2 separate regions of the Homo sapiens genome follow, and region 2 is linked to region 1. The links are contacts of gene promoters, found by promoter capture Hi-C in blood cells and fetal thymus (Javierre and others, 2016). All regions are on one chromosome and are shown on one strand. Each heading gives the region's core, a stretch centred on a gene start or on the middle of the fragment in contact. The rest is flanking DNA. Distances are from core to core; before and after follow the strand shown. Region 1 holds the start of RMDN2-AS1 (RMDN2 antisense RNA 1). Region 2 has its middle 43 kb from the start of QPCT.

The links. Contacts are between HindIII fragments. The CHiCAGO score rates a contact against its expected background, and 5 or more counts as called.
Region 2: a contact is called between a fragment that was not itself captured here and the fragment with the promoter of RMDN2-AS1 in region 1, in 1 of 17 cell types (megakaryocytes). The highest score is 6.0, in megakaryocytes.

The regions. Positions count from the first base shown.
Region 1 is chr2:38,033,438-38,039,243 of GRCh38, forward strand. It overlaps RMDN2-AS1 (RMDN2 antisense RNA 1), which reads right to left and starts at 2,904. Exons shown (of 4, transcript NR_102712.1): 1 at 2,713-2,904. It also overlaps a transcript of RMDN2 not described here. RefSeq lists a silencer at 5,160-5,229. The HindIII fragment of the contact is 2,287 bases long and covers 1,435-3,721 here.
Region 2 is chr2:37,384,503-37,390,308 of GRCh38, forward strand. No RefSeq gene overlaps it. Among named protein-coding and RNA genes, the nearest start is that of QPCT, 43 kb to the left of the region's middle. RefSeq lists an enhancer at 5,602-5,791. The HindIII fragment of the contact is 4,076 bases long and covers 1,329-5,404 here.

The sequences.
Region 1 (5,806 bases), core at 1,654-4,153:
GTGTCCTTCTACCTCTCTTGCTCTGCTATACTTAAAGAAACTCCTAGTGATACAATCCCAACAATCAGTCATGAGTTCTCTGACCTTTCACAACACCATCTATGTTTCTTACATTGTTATCCAATTCTATATTTTTTGAATTGTTATCTACTCCATGTGGACACACATTCATTCTCCGCATAGATTAAAAGACTACATCTGATCTTGCTTCTGTGTTTTCATAGGGCTCAATAAATACTTTTAAAGTTGAATTGAATTTGCAATATTCACTATATAATTAAGAGAGAAAATTTGAGATCAAATTTACTCTAGATTTCAGATCAGTCATTTCATGGGAATCCAAACTTTCCATGTCCAGGAATTCATGAGATTCCTCCCCCAACCTCCTGCTCTTGTTGACAATGTAAAACAAACCACAGTTAGCCTGGGAATTATCTTTACGGAATATATCAGCATATTGTTTTGAGTTTTTGCACTGCATGTATTAATCAACCAAGAACACATGTCTTGGTTCAGTAAAAATTTGCAGAAAGCTAGGCATCCTATTAAAAGAATCTGTTGACGTTTATCCCCCCAGCTAGCTTTTCCTATTTTGTAACTACAAAGAATATTAGTGTTTCTTTACTTTTCAGAATCATCTACTCAGAAAGACTTCTAGCAGTGTCCTCGACAGGAAGTCACCACTGTGCTGAGGCAAGGCAGTGGGTCTTTAGGAGGTCAGGTTTCTTCCCACCCTTTGACTGCTCTGCCTGTAGATGTGTCAGCTCTTATCCCACTTCTGCTGAGAAGAGCATCCTTCAGCCGTGACACTAAACTTGTGTGAGGATGATGCAGAGAGGCTGGGCACAGGCCACATAGGCTCACCCTCTACCACTATCTTGGACATATTAGGTTCCTACATGATGGGGAGATCAGGAGGGCTAGGGGAGCCTAGTTATAGTTGCTTTATTGGAACTGTCTGGCATAGAAGAAGACATTCAGAGGGCAATAAAGATCAGACTTTTTCAGAGGCAAACAGGTGAACTTCCAGTGATTTATTCTTAGTTAACCAACCTTCAACCAACTGATAAGATAAACAGTATCCCTAATGCTGATCCTAAAGCATTCGAGATCCTGAAGTATCTTCAGCATTATCAAAAAGGATTAAATTGTATTGTGGTAAACAATGATATTTTAATTTTAAAAATTTATTATAATCCTCTAAACCCATGCTCTCCAAACTTTCTTATTTTATGCTTGAATCGGTTGTAAAAATTGTCATCCCCTAATATATTTATATTTATTTATTTATAAATTATACGTATTAATACCCTACTAAAATTTTCATGATAAAACATATACAAATATAAAATATTTTAAAGGGCAAGAATGTTTTCTTGATTTTAAAATTTAATAAGTAGAAATAAAGGAATACTGTTTTAATATTTAAAAAAAAGCTTTTTATCTGAGCTCATCATGCCTACTAACAAAGTATTTAGAAGCATTTATGCTGAAGTAAGGACAGGAAAAATGACACTGTCACTACTATTATTGAATATTGTTCTAGAGATACTAGCTCTAATTAGGAAAGACAAACAAATTAGAATATTTGAAAGTAATACATTAACAGAATATGGTAAGTATCATTTATGTTGGCAAATAAATTCACGTGTGAAAAACCTGAAAGAACGAACTACAAAACATTCTTCAACAATAAAAGAATAAATATATAGAAATCAGTAGCCATGACAAATACAGATGGCAGCCAGTTAGAAGGTGTACTGGAAGGTAATGCCTCATTTACCCTGAGTAAAACAAGATCAAATATCTAGGAATAAATATAAGAATCATGTCTGATAGGCAAGCAGAAATTGAAGGAACCCCAAAAGTTTGAACAAATAAAAAGACACACTATATTTTGATTAGGAAGACAGCATCCTAAAATTATCCAATATCCTTCAATTAATCTACAAATTTGATAAAATTCCAATACAAATACCAACAAGATTCTTTTTATGTTCTGAGGTTCAAATGGAAAATCAAACAAGTAAGAGTAGTTGTGAAAATACTGAAGAAGTCAAGCAATGAGGGGCAACAATACCTACCAGATAAGAAAAAATGCATAAAGCTATCATACTCAAAGAAATATGAATGAATAGACAAATCAGTGAAATAGAATATAAAGTCCATAAATACATCCTAATACACATAAAAATGTATATGATAAAAGAGGCATGTAAAATGAGTTATTCAATAAATGAGTCCCTGGAAGATAAGGAGGGTGGGAAACAGATAGGATAGGCTATGAATTATTAAGCAACTGGTTTATATCTAGTTTAACCAGCAAGATGCAGGAGCATCTTCAACTTAGTTTTCTCATAGCACCATGATGTCCACAAATCCACTTACAAGCAATAGTTCTGTCTTTCCCAATGTTACATTCCAAGCATTCACAACCGTATCTGGACACAGAAACTCTACCATGGTACCAAACAGTAATTACTCTGCAGAGGTAATAGGTGCACACACTATTTAGGTCTGAATACCACAGCAGGGAAAGGTATGCCAGCTAGGAAGGAAATAAAATCTCAGGAAAAACGAGGGCAAGTAGAAAAAAAAAAAGATAAGAGGAACTAAATAGCCTCGCTGGGCACATACTCATGGGAACCCTGCTGATGTTGCCCAACTTGAAGATAAAGAGATGCCTATGATATAGAATCATGAAGATCTCACCTCAGAGAGATCCGTGATATGTCACCCAGGAGCATCCGTCACCTGCCGGAGCACTGTACCAGGAAACCAGAGGCATGGTTCTGTGTAATCTCGAGCAAGCTAAGTGGCCATGATGAGAATGCTTCTTCCTACTGTGCCCAGCTACAGGATTTATGTAAGAATGACACGAAATGACAGATGTGAGTACACTTTGCAGCTCTGATCAGTGGTATCCTAATAAAGAAGAATTGTTAGCTTTGAGTTGAGCCTTGTTTGTAACAGGCACTCACTTCACTGTTGTTGCCTTTTATGTTCCGGAGTCCTGCATGATATGGACTCCAGGATAGCAAGAGTCCACATACCCCTCCCCAAGAGAAATTAAGCTGGGAGCCATGGAATTATCATCATCTCCTTGCCACCCTGTCCAACTGCAGGTCGTGGGAAGCTGAATTTACCCTGTGAGACTTCTGCTTCATTTACATTCATCTTGGCAGGCAGTGGTGGGTCGTGGGGAACCTGTTGAAAGCATGACAGCAATGAAGGCTTTCTTACATGCTGAACTCACATCAAAGCTCTTTTCTTCTGTGCTGACACATGTAACTCTTTACCAGTCTGATGATAACACATACAGAGACAGACCCTCGGATTCCTGCTGGGGAGAAAACAGAGCCAGAGATATGCTGTACTGAGCTGGCAAATACAGTGTTCTTTCTGTTAAAATCTGATGGGAAAGTAACTAGGCAAAAATCCATGGTGCTGGCTACGGTACAAAGATGACCAAGGCTGTCTCAGGTATCCTGGTGGCTTTATTGTCTATTTCCGGGAAAAGAGTAGGTAGGGATCAAGAGCAAAGAACATGGGAAAATGTGCTGCTTTGTCATTGCAGTTCATTTATTTCCTAGAAATTTTGGCTTCTAGGGAAAGGCAGCGTGATATAAAAAAGAAAAAGGTACTGGACTCAACCTGATTTAAATCCAGACCTGACACTTTGCTACCTGGATGAACTTGGGTAAGTGACCTAAGCTCTCTAAGCTTCAGTTTCCTCATCTGTAAAATGAGGATGAAATTTTCTATGCAAGATTTTGTAAGGAAGATCAAATAAATGGACATAAAGCAATTGACACATAAATATGGAAACGATTTCTCAGCTTTCCTCCCTGAGGGACAGAGACTCTTCAGGCTACTTAAATTCTCCCCAGACTTTTCCAAGTTGCTCTTTATCCTCATACCCTGGCCACACCACAAAAGCTGCCCACATAGAAGAACTTGGTGAAGACTTGCTGACTATTCCCCTAAATTCTGCTTGTTTAATAAACATCTGCAGAGACAGGCTCAGCAATGGGCTCATTGTGGAGAATCCCAGAAGTGTGTGGCAACACCAAAGGAATTTTATGAAAGTCCCAGGAGAGAGAAACTGTCGTTCAAGTCATCACATAGCAAACTGCCCCTAACACGTGCTGCACACACATTAGGTGGTGACTCAGTTTTGGTGTTTGACTTGAGTCTTAAAACATAGTTCAGAACCTGATGATACTTCCCTGAATTCCCATTTTTAGTGTGAAAGTGTGTTCGGCTTCCCGTTGGCTATTGGGAGCTTGAAAGAAATTCAAGGAAGGAGACCTACAAACTGCTTATAAAGGATACTGCGTGAGCTTTATGCACTTTGGCTCTTTTAATCCATTCCACAAGGCCGTGATGCCCATTTTACAGATGATGAAACTCTTTCTGAGGTTAAGTAGCTCACACGGTGCCACAGCTAGCGACTGCGTGAGCTGAGTCACATCCAGATCGTTCAGTATGAGAATTTTAAGAGAAGATAAACATGTGATTCTCTCGAAACTCGGTGTTCTGTAGCCTGCAAACCCCTCTGGAGCCTGGTGTTTGCTTTGCTTGCAAGCCTGACCTCCGAGGCTCCTGCCATCTTCCTTCCCTCTTCTCCCCTCCATTCTCCCCTTTCCCGAACCGTTTCTTTCCCCCATTCCTTCCCCATCTAAACCACAGAAAAGCACTTCCAGGCTCCATTTCAGCCAGCAAAAATCTCAAGCCCAGGGGAGGGCTTCCGGGACTTTCCACTGGAGGCTCTTAGACTTAGACGCAGCGTCCTCTCCTGGAGGGAGCGCAGCGCCCCCCGGGCGCAAGGGGGACGCGTTCAAGCGAGGGCGGACGCCGACTGCGAGTCTCTTTGTGCAGCACTTTGTCTTTCTCTCCCTTGGGGTGTTTTTGGGATTCCCCAACAATAGAATGAGCTGAGTTCTGCGTTACTGATTCAGTTATCTCGGTACAAGGCGGAAAGTGCCGGGAGGAAAACTGATACCCCGTATTGAGCAAGCTGTTTTCTGGGAAACTCCGAACTGTCTCCTGCACGGTTCAGGCCCGGTTACCGCTGCCTGCAACCCCCGCCTCGGAGCCAGCTGCGCCTGGAGCTAAAGCCTCAGCTTTTTAAGGCATGGTTTGCACTCTTTTATAGTTGCTGAGCTACGCTAGGGCCAAACCAACCACTCATCATCAACCTCTATTCACAGCATCTAGAATAAAACCTGCCACATGGCAGGCACCCAGTAAAAGCCTTTTGGAATCGGAATAGAAGGTGGGTTGATTACACTGGGTGCTTCTCACAGCCCACAGGGTTGGGACTGACAAGTATTCCGGCATTAGTAAGGGCAGAGACACTTTGGGCTGGCCAGACCTGATCCTGGGGAGGATCACTGGGTCATTTCTTGGCATCTCCCATCCCATCCCTGCCCTGATAGGTTTCGCCCCTTTCAGCACTCGGAGGGCCAGGCTGGTGGTTCCCATAGAGGTGTACCGCCTGGCAGCCAAACAGGGAAGGGTGTTCCCTTCTGCTCAGTTTTGATTTGAGCTTTGCAAGTGACAATGAAAATAATATTTTTGAGCAACAGTTTAAAAGCCAGATGCTATACACACACACACACACACACACACACACACACACACACACACACACAGAGAGAGAGATAAAATGTTCATGGATTAAGATTATATATTCATATAATTTTAACTATATTCATATGGATTAAAACTAATCCATATGATTATGGTAAAATAATTTAGTCACTTGGGATTGTCCTTATTTTACAAATGAGAAAACTATGGC
Region 2 (5,806 bases), core at 2,117-4,616, 650 kb before region 1:
CTGGAGATGTGGCTGGGGTTTGGCTCACAGTGGAGGCAAGGAATTGCAACACAGAAATATGTTGCTACTTGGCTGCTGCTACTCTATTATTGTTCACCTTGAAGGTGAGGTTAATTAAGTCCTGTTGTGGGGTTTGAGGGCTGGAATTTAATTTTTGGAGATTTATTTAATGTCGGGAGCAGATTGGGTAAAAAATAAAATGTATATTGAGAATAAGACGGCCTTTTGACCTTTCAGGGTCTAGGGCTGTAAAGCGTCTCAGGGCTGCTGCCAAATGAGCCGTGAGCTGGGCTGGGTTTTTATATTTGATGAAAGAGCCTAAACGCTAACTGATTTGGGAGAGGTCGGATAAAGAAAAAGGAGCATCAACCTTGACTATGCCTTTAGCTCCAGCCACCTTTTTAAGAGGAAATTGCTGGGCAGGTGGGAGACGGCTAGTTGCGGAATGAAACTGTAAGCTGGACTGGGTGTGAGGAGGGGAGGTGATAAAAGGATTATAGGGTGGAGGAGCCGAGGCTGAGGAAGAATTGGGACCTAGCTCGGCCTGGCGAGGAGGGGAGAGGTCAGATGGGTCTGTAGAAAAGGAAGATTAGAAAGACCCAGCAATGCTTGGGGTTGGGACTGAGGGGACAGGCGGAAGGGAAAGAAGGAAGATTTGGGATGAGTTGCATTGGGAACAGAGGGGAGGGACTGATATGTAAAAGAATGCCTGGACGTTAGGCACCTCAGACCATTTGCCCATTTTACGACAAGAATTATCTAGATCTTGTAGGATGGAAAAATTGAAAGTGCCGTTTTCTGGCTATTTAGAGCCATTGTCAAGTTTGTATTGGGGCTAAGCGGTGTTGCAGAAGAAAATAAGATGCTTAGATTTTAGGTCAGGCGAGAGTTGAAGAGGTTTTAAGTTCTTAAGAACACAGGCTAAGGGAGAAGAAGGAGGAATGGAGGGTGGAAGCTTGCCTATAGTGAAGGAGGCAAGGTTAAGAAAAAGGTAGAGACACGGAGAAGCGGGTGGGGAGCAGCCCTGGGCTGCAATGTGGGTGAGCAACAAGGCTGTTGATTTCACCTGGGTGCAGGCGGGCTGAGTCCGAAAAGAGTCAGCCATTTTTGTATTTTTAGTAGAGATAGGATTTCGCCATATTGGCCAGGCTGGTCTCAAAATCCTGACCTCAGGTGATCCACCCACCTCAGCCTTCCAAAGTACTGGGATTACAGATGTGAGCCACTGCAGCCAGCCCATTATGTTTTAAGAAAGTTTATGGTTTTGTATTGGGCCACATTCAAAGCCATCCTGGGTCGCATGCCACCGGTGGGCTGCGGGTTGGACAAGCTTGATTTACTCTATGGTTTTCACCCTCAGCTTTAGATTCTCCTTGGGGCTGCACTGCACGGACGGTCCCTGTCCACGTTTTTGCCTCTTTCCCAGTGGTAGAATGTACTCCAACAGTTTTCAACGTTTTTGTATTTTAAGTAGTAAAGTCCTTTCTTTGAAGGATATCTCACACGAAAACCCCAAAGATAAAAGCAGTGCAGATCTGGTTGAAGGTAGGAGAGTGGCCTAGAACTTTATTGGTGAAACCTTATCCAAACCCCCCAGCACACTCACCCTGACGCACTGCAGCCGGGACTCTTCAGCACCTCCCTGTAAGCTGGTGCTCTGCAGACCTTAGCTTGGAGCTCCGATCTAATCTCCAGTCTCTTTTTACTCAGTTCTCAGAGGCAATGACTTGGTGGATCAGTCAATCCTTGGGTTCTAGGTTACCACTTTCACCTGGTTCTCCTACCTTTCTAGTCTCTCCTTCTGTCTCCCTTGCTGTGTCTTTTTTTGTCTTTCTGACTCTTAAAAATCAGAATATTCTGGAGCTTAGTTCTTGGACCTCTTCTCCAGCTATACTCACTCCCCAGCTGATCACATCTAGCCCCATGGTTTGAAGATTATGTGTAGATAACTTCCAAATTAGTATCTCCAGTCTCAATCTCTCCCAAAACTCCAAACATCTCCACTGGGGTGTCCCAAAGACACTTCAAATGAGGAAATGCAAAACTGAACTCACAGTTCCGTGCATCCTCCCGAACCTTCTTCTTCCTACATTAGTACATGGACACTTTTTAAGCCAGGTACTGACTCTTCTTTCTCAGCTCTGGACATTATCAAGTTCTATAGGCTCTCCTTTGTACCCCAGGTCTGTCCCCTTTGAGCAGTGCTCCCCCTCTGGGTCAAGTCACCATCATCTCTTCCTGGGTCCCCCTGCTCCACCTTGCTTCTGTAGTCTCCTATCACAGGGACTAGAACGATCCTTTTAAATTGGAATCAGGGGCTGGGTGTGATGGCTCATGCCTGTAATCCCAGCACTTTGGGATGCATAGGTGGGCTGATCACCTGAGGTCAGGAGTTGGAGACCAGCCTGGCCAACATGGCAAAACCCGTCTCTACTAAAAATGCAAAAATTAGCTGGGCATGGTTGTTCCACCTGTAATTCCAGCTACTCAGGAGGCTGAGGCAGGAGAATTACTTGAACCCAGGAGGCAGAGGTTGCAGTGAGCTGAGATCACACCACTGCACTTCAGCCTGGGCAACACAGTGAAATTCTGTCTCAAAAAAAAAAAAATTGCAATCAGGTCATATTACAGCTCTGAAATGGCTTTTCCTTTCTCTCAGAATAGGATCCAGTGTCATTTCTATGGCTGACAAGGTTCCATATGACCAGGCTCCTCCATCTTTCTGGTCCCTCCTCCTATGGCTCTCTTCCTACATCACCTCTCCTGGCCACACTGGCCTCCTGGCTTTTCCCAAACAAGCTGAGCACAGTCCTGAATCACTGCCTTTCTATGTGCTTGCTCCTCTGCCTGGAATGCTTTCCCCTAGATATTTGCGTCGGATGTGCCCACATTTCATCTGAGGTTTTGCTCAACTAATACTTAATTGGAGGGGCCTTCCCTGATCCCCTTCATCCTGTCCCCTGGACTTGCCCATTTTCCATCCTGGAGAGGTCTTAGTGACAACTTACGCTGTAAAGCCACCACCATCAATCACTTCATCCCCTAACGCTACACATTGCTTCTTCTTTCCCCAGAGATGAGGGTTAGACTTATGTTTGGTAGGAGCTGCAGCAGCTGCAACACTGAGGTCTGACTCAACTGAATCCAGGGAAGCTCTGGCTTCCCCAGCAGCTGCCCTGGGGGCCAGTGACACAACCCAGAAATACATACAGTTAATGTCCTGCACAGTAGACAAATCAATGGAAAGCAGGAGATAGGAAGAGACCGAGGGTTAATTGCTTACCCTTCCTCCCTCCAGTGGATTGTTTTGACATGCAGTGATTTTATTTGACCTCTCTGGAAGAGATGGAGATGGAGAAACAAGCTGTATTTGTGGCAAAGCTGGCCATCTTGGTAACACATCCCTTGTATTTGCCATTCTTCCTTTCCTGTCTCACTTCCTACTTTCCTTCACTTTTACTCCCCCTAAATTGCACCTTCTCTCATAAAGTCTAAGCCATGAGCTTTTGTTTCAGGCTCTGATTTCTAGGGGACTGTTATCTGTTTATTTGTGTGTTATCTCTCTCTCCTCTCTAGAATGTGAGCCCAGAAGAAGAGTAGGGAGTTTGTTTCGTTTACTGCTGTATCCTCAATGACCGGCCTAGTACTTGGAACATGGTAGATGCATGTTAAATACTTGTTGAATGAACTTCATGATGAGGAAACTTGTCTTTCCTAATCCTGGACCTTAAGCCAGGATGATTCACTGAAGCCAGGATGGTTCACTTGTAAGTCACCTGGTAAGTCCCACTCATCTGTGGCAATCCTTTGGTACCTCTTGCTTTGAATCTGCTCTTGATCTTGCTTCTGCTTCCTCCTCTCTCACCTGTGATATGCAACAGCCTCCCAATTGGACTCCCTGCAGCATTCCACCCTGCTTCATTCTAGACTTCATGCAACAGTCAGAGAAATGTTTTAAACACATTAATCAGGTCTCATTGCTATGCTGCATAAAACCCTGTGATGGTTTTTCACTGCACTGAGAATTAATATGAACTCCTTAACTATGGCTTACTATGGCCTACAAGGCCCTCCCCACTCAGAAACTCAACAATCTTTTTTTTTTTTTTTTTTTTTGAGACAGAGTCTCACTCTGTTGCCCAGGCTGGAGTGCAGTGGTGCAATCTCGGCTCACTTCAACCTCCACCACCTGGGTTCAAGCAATTCTCCTGTCTCAGCCTCCTGAATAGCTGGGATTACAGGCGCCCAACATCATGCCGGGCTAATTTTTTTTTTTGTATTTTTTGTAGAGACAGGGTTTCACCATGTTGGGCAGGCTGGTCTCAAACTCCTGACCTCAGGTGATCCACCTGCTTCAGCCTCCCAGAGTGCTGGGATTCTAGGCGTGAGCCACCGTGCCTGGCCCAGAAACTCAACATTCTACCACTCTTTCCCTCCCTCTCTGGCCTAAAATGCCATTGCCCTCTTTTGTTCCTTGAACTTACTAAGCAGTCCCCTGCCATAGGGAGGCTTCTGGACATCCTTATCCTCCACATGGGATTCTCCTTTAGTCCCGATTTACATTGCTGTCTCTTTCTTGGCCTTCTCACAGAGGCTGTTCCTCACATCCTCTTATCCAGAATAGGTCCTTCCCTGTATATTTCTATCTCAGCACTCTACTCATTTCTTTCTTTTTTCTTATCACAACTTGTCATTACAATATTGTTTTACTATGGGTGGGGGGCAGCCTGTTTTCATGATCAAATTGTAGGTTTCATGAGGGCAAGGACTATGTCTATGTTTTTCATCATTGTATTCCCAGCAACTTGGAGATATTTGTGTGTGTCAGAGGTTTAATACATACTTGGTGATTAAACAAATATTCAAGAACTGATCCAGCTTCTATTTCTCTGGCTTCAGGACTTGCCTCAAATGTCCCTTTATCACAGGCCTTCTCCAACTACCCTATATAAAATGTAACAGTGTATCTCCTGGCTTTTACTCTTGATTGTGGTGAGAGATTTGGTATCCTTGGTCTGGGCCTTTTGTGTTCTCTAAGAACCTGGTTTGCCCTCTGCCTCTTGGCTCTACTGGCTGCCATGAGCATCTACACCTCCCAGCTCCAGCTCTCAGGGCCCCTGTCCTCATTCAAGGCCTGCCCTGCTTCATCCTGGAGGAGATGGGGCAAACTCAGATACAGAGAGCTTTAGCAACTTGTTCAAGTTTATACAATAATGAAGATTGGGCCAGAAGTCAGGTTTTGGGATTTGCACCCAGTCTCATGCCTTTTCACTCTATTATGCTAATCCTGTATCTCTGTTTCAAATCGAAGTGACTCATTTTGAGTTTTCAGATGAACACTCCAAGTATTATGGAGTACCTGGTTATTTGAAGTAAAAAAAAAAAACAAAAAACCAAGAATTGAAGCTTCTAGCTAGACAAACAAAGCTTGAAGCACCAGACAGCTATTGAAGACCAAATCTACCCACAGGGCTGGAATTAGGCACCGAGGGAACAGATGCAGGGAGAGATCCAAGCTCACAGCCAGGAGCCAGATGCTGGGTGTAAGCTGTCTGTGCCTGTCCTCCTTTCCCAAGGCCCGCCAAAGGGAGGCTCTGAGCTTCAGAGTGGGGATCTAGACTTCAGTTGCCAGTAGGTTCTGAAAGTGCTGCCCTCAGGGAAATGGTGACTTAGAAACAGAACTGCAACAAGTTTCAGTTGAACTCCAGGGAATTCCCTAGGTATGCCTCTTGCCTCCTCCTCATCTCTCTCCTTCAAAAGAAGGACATTTGAGGAAGTCCCAGGGAAGAGAGATGAGAAATATGGT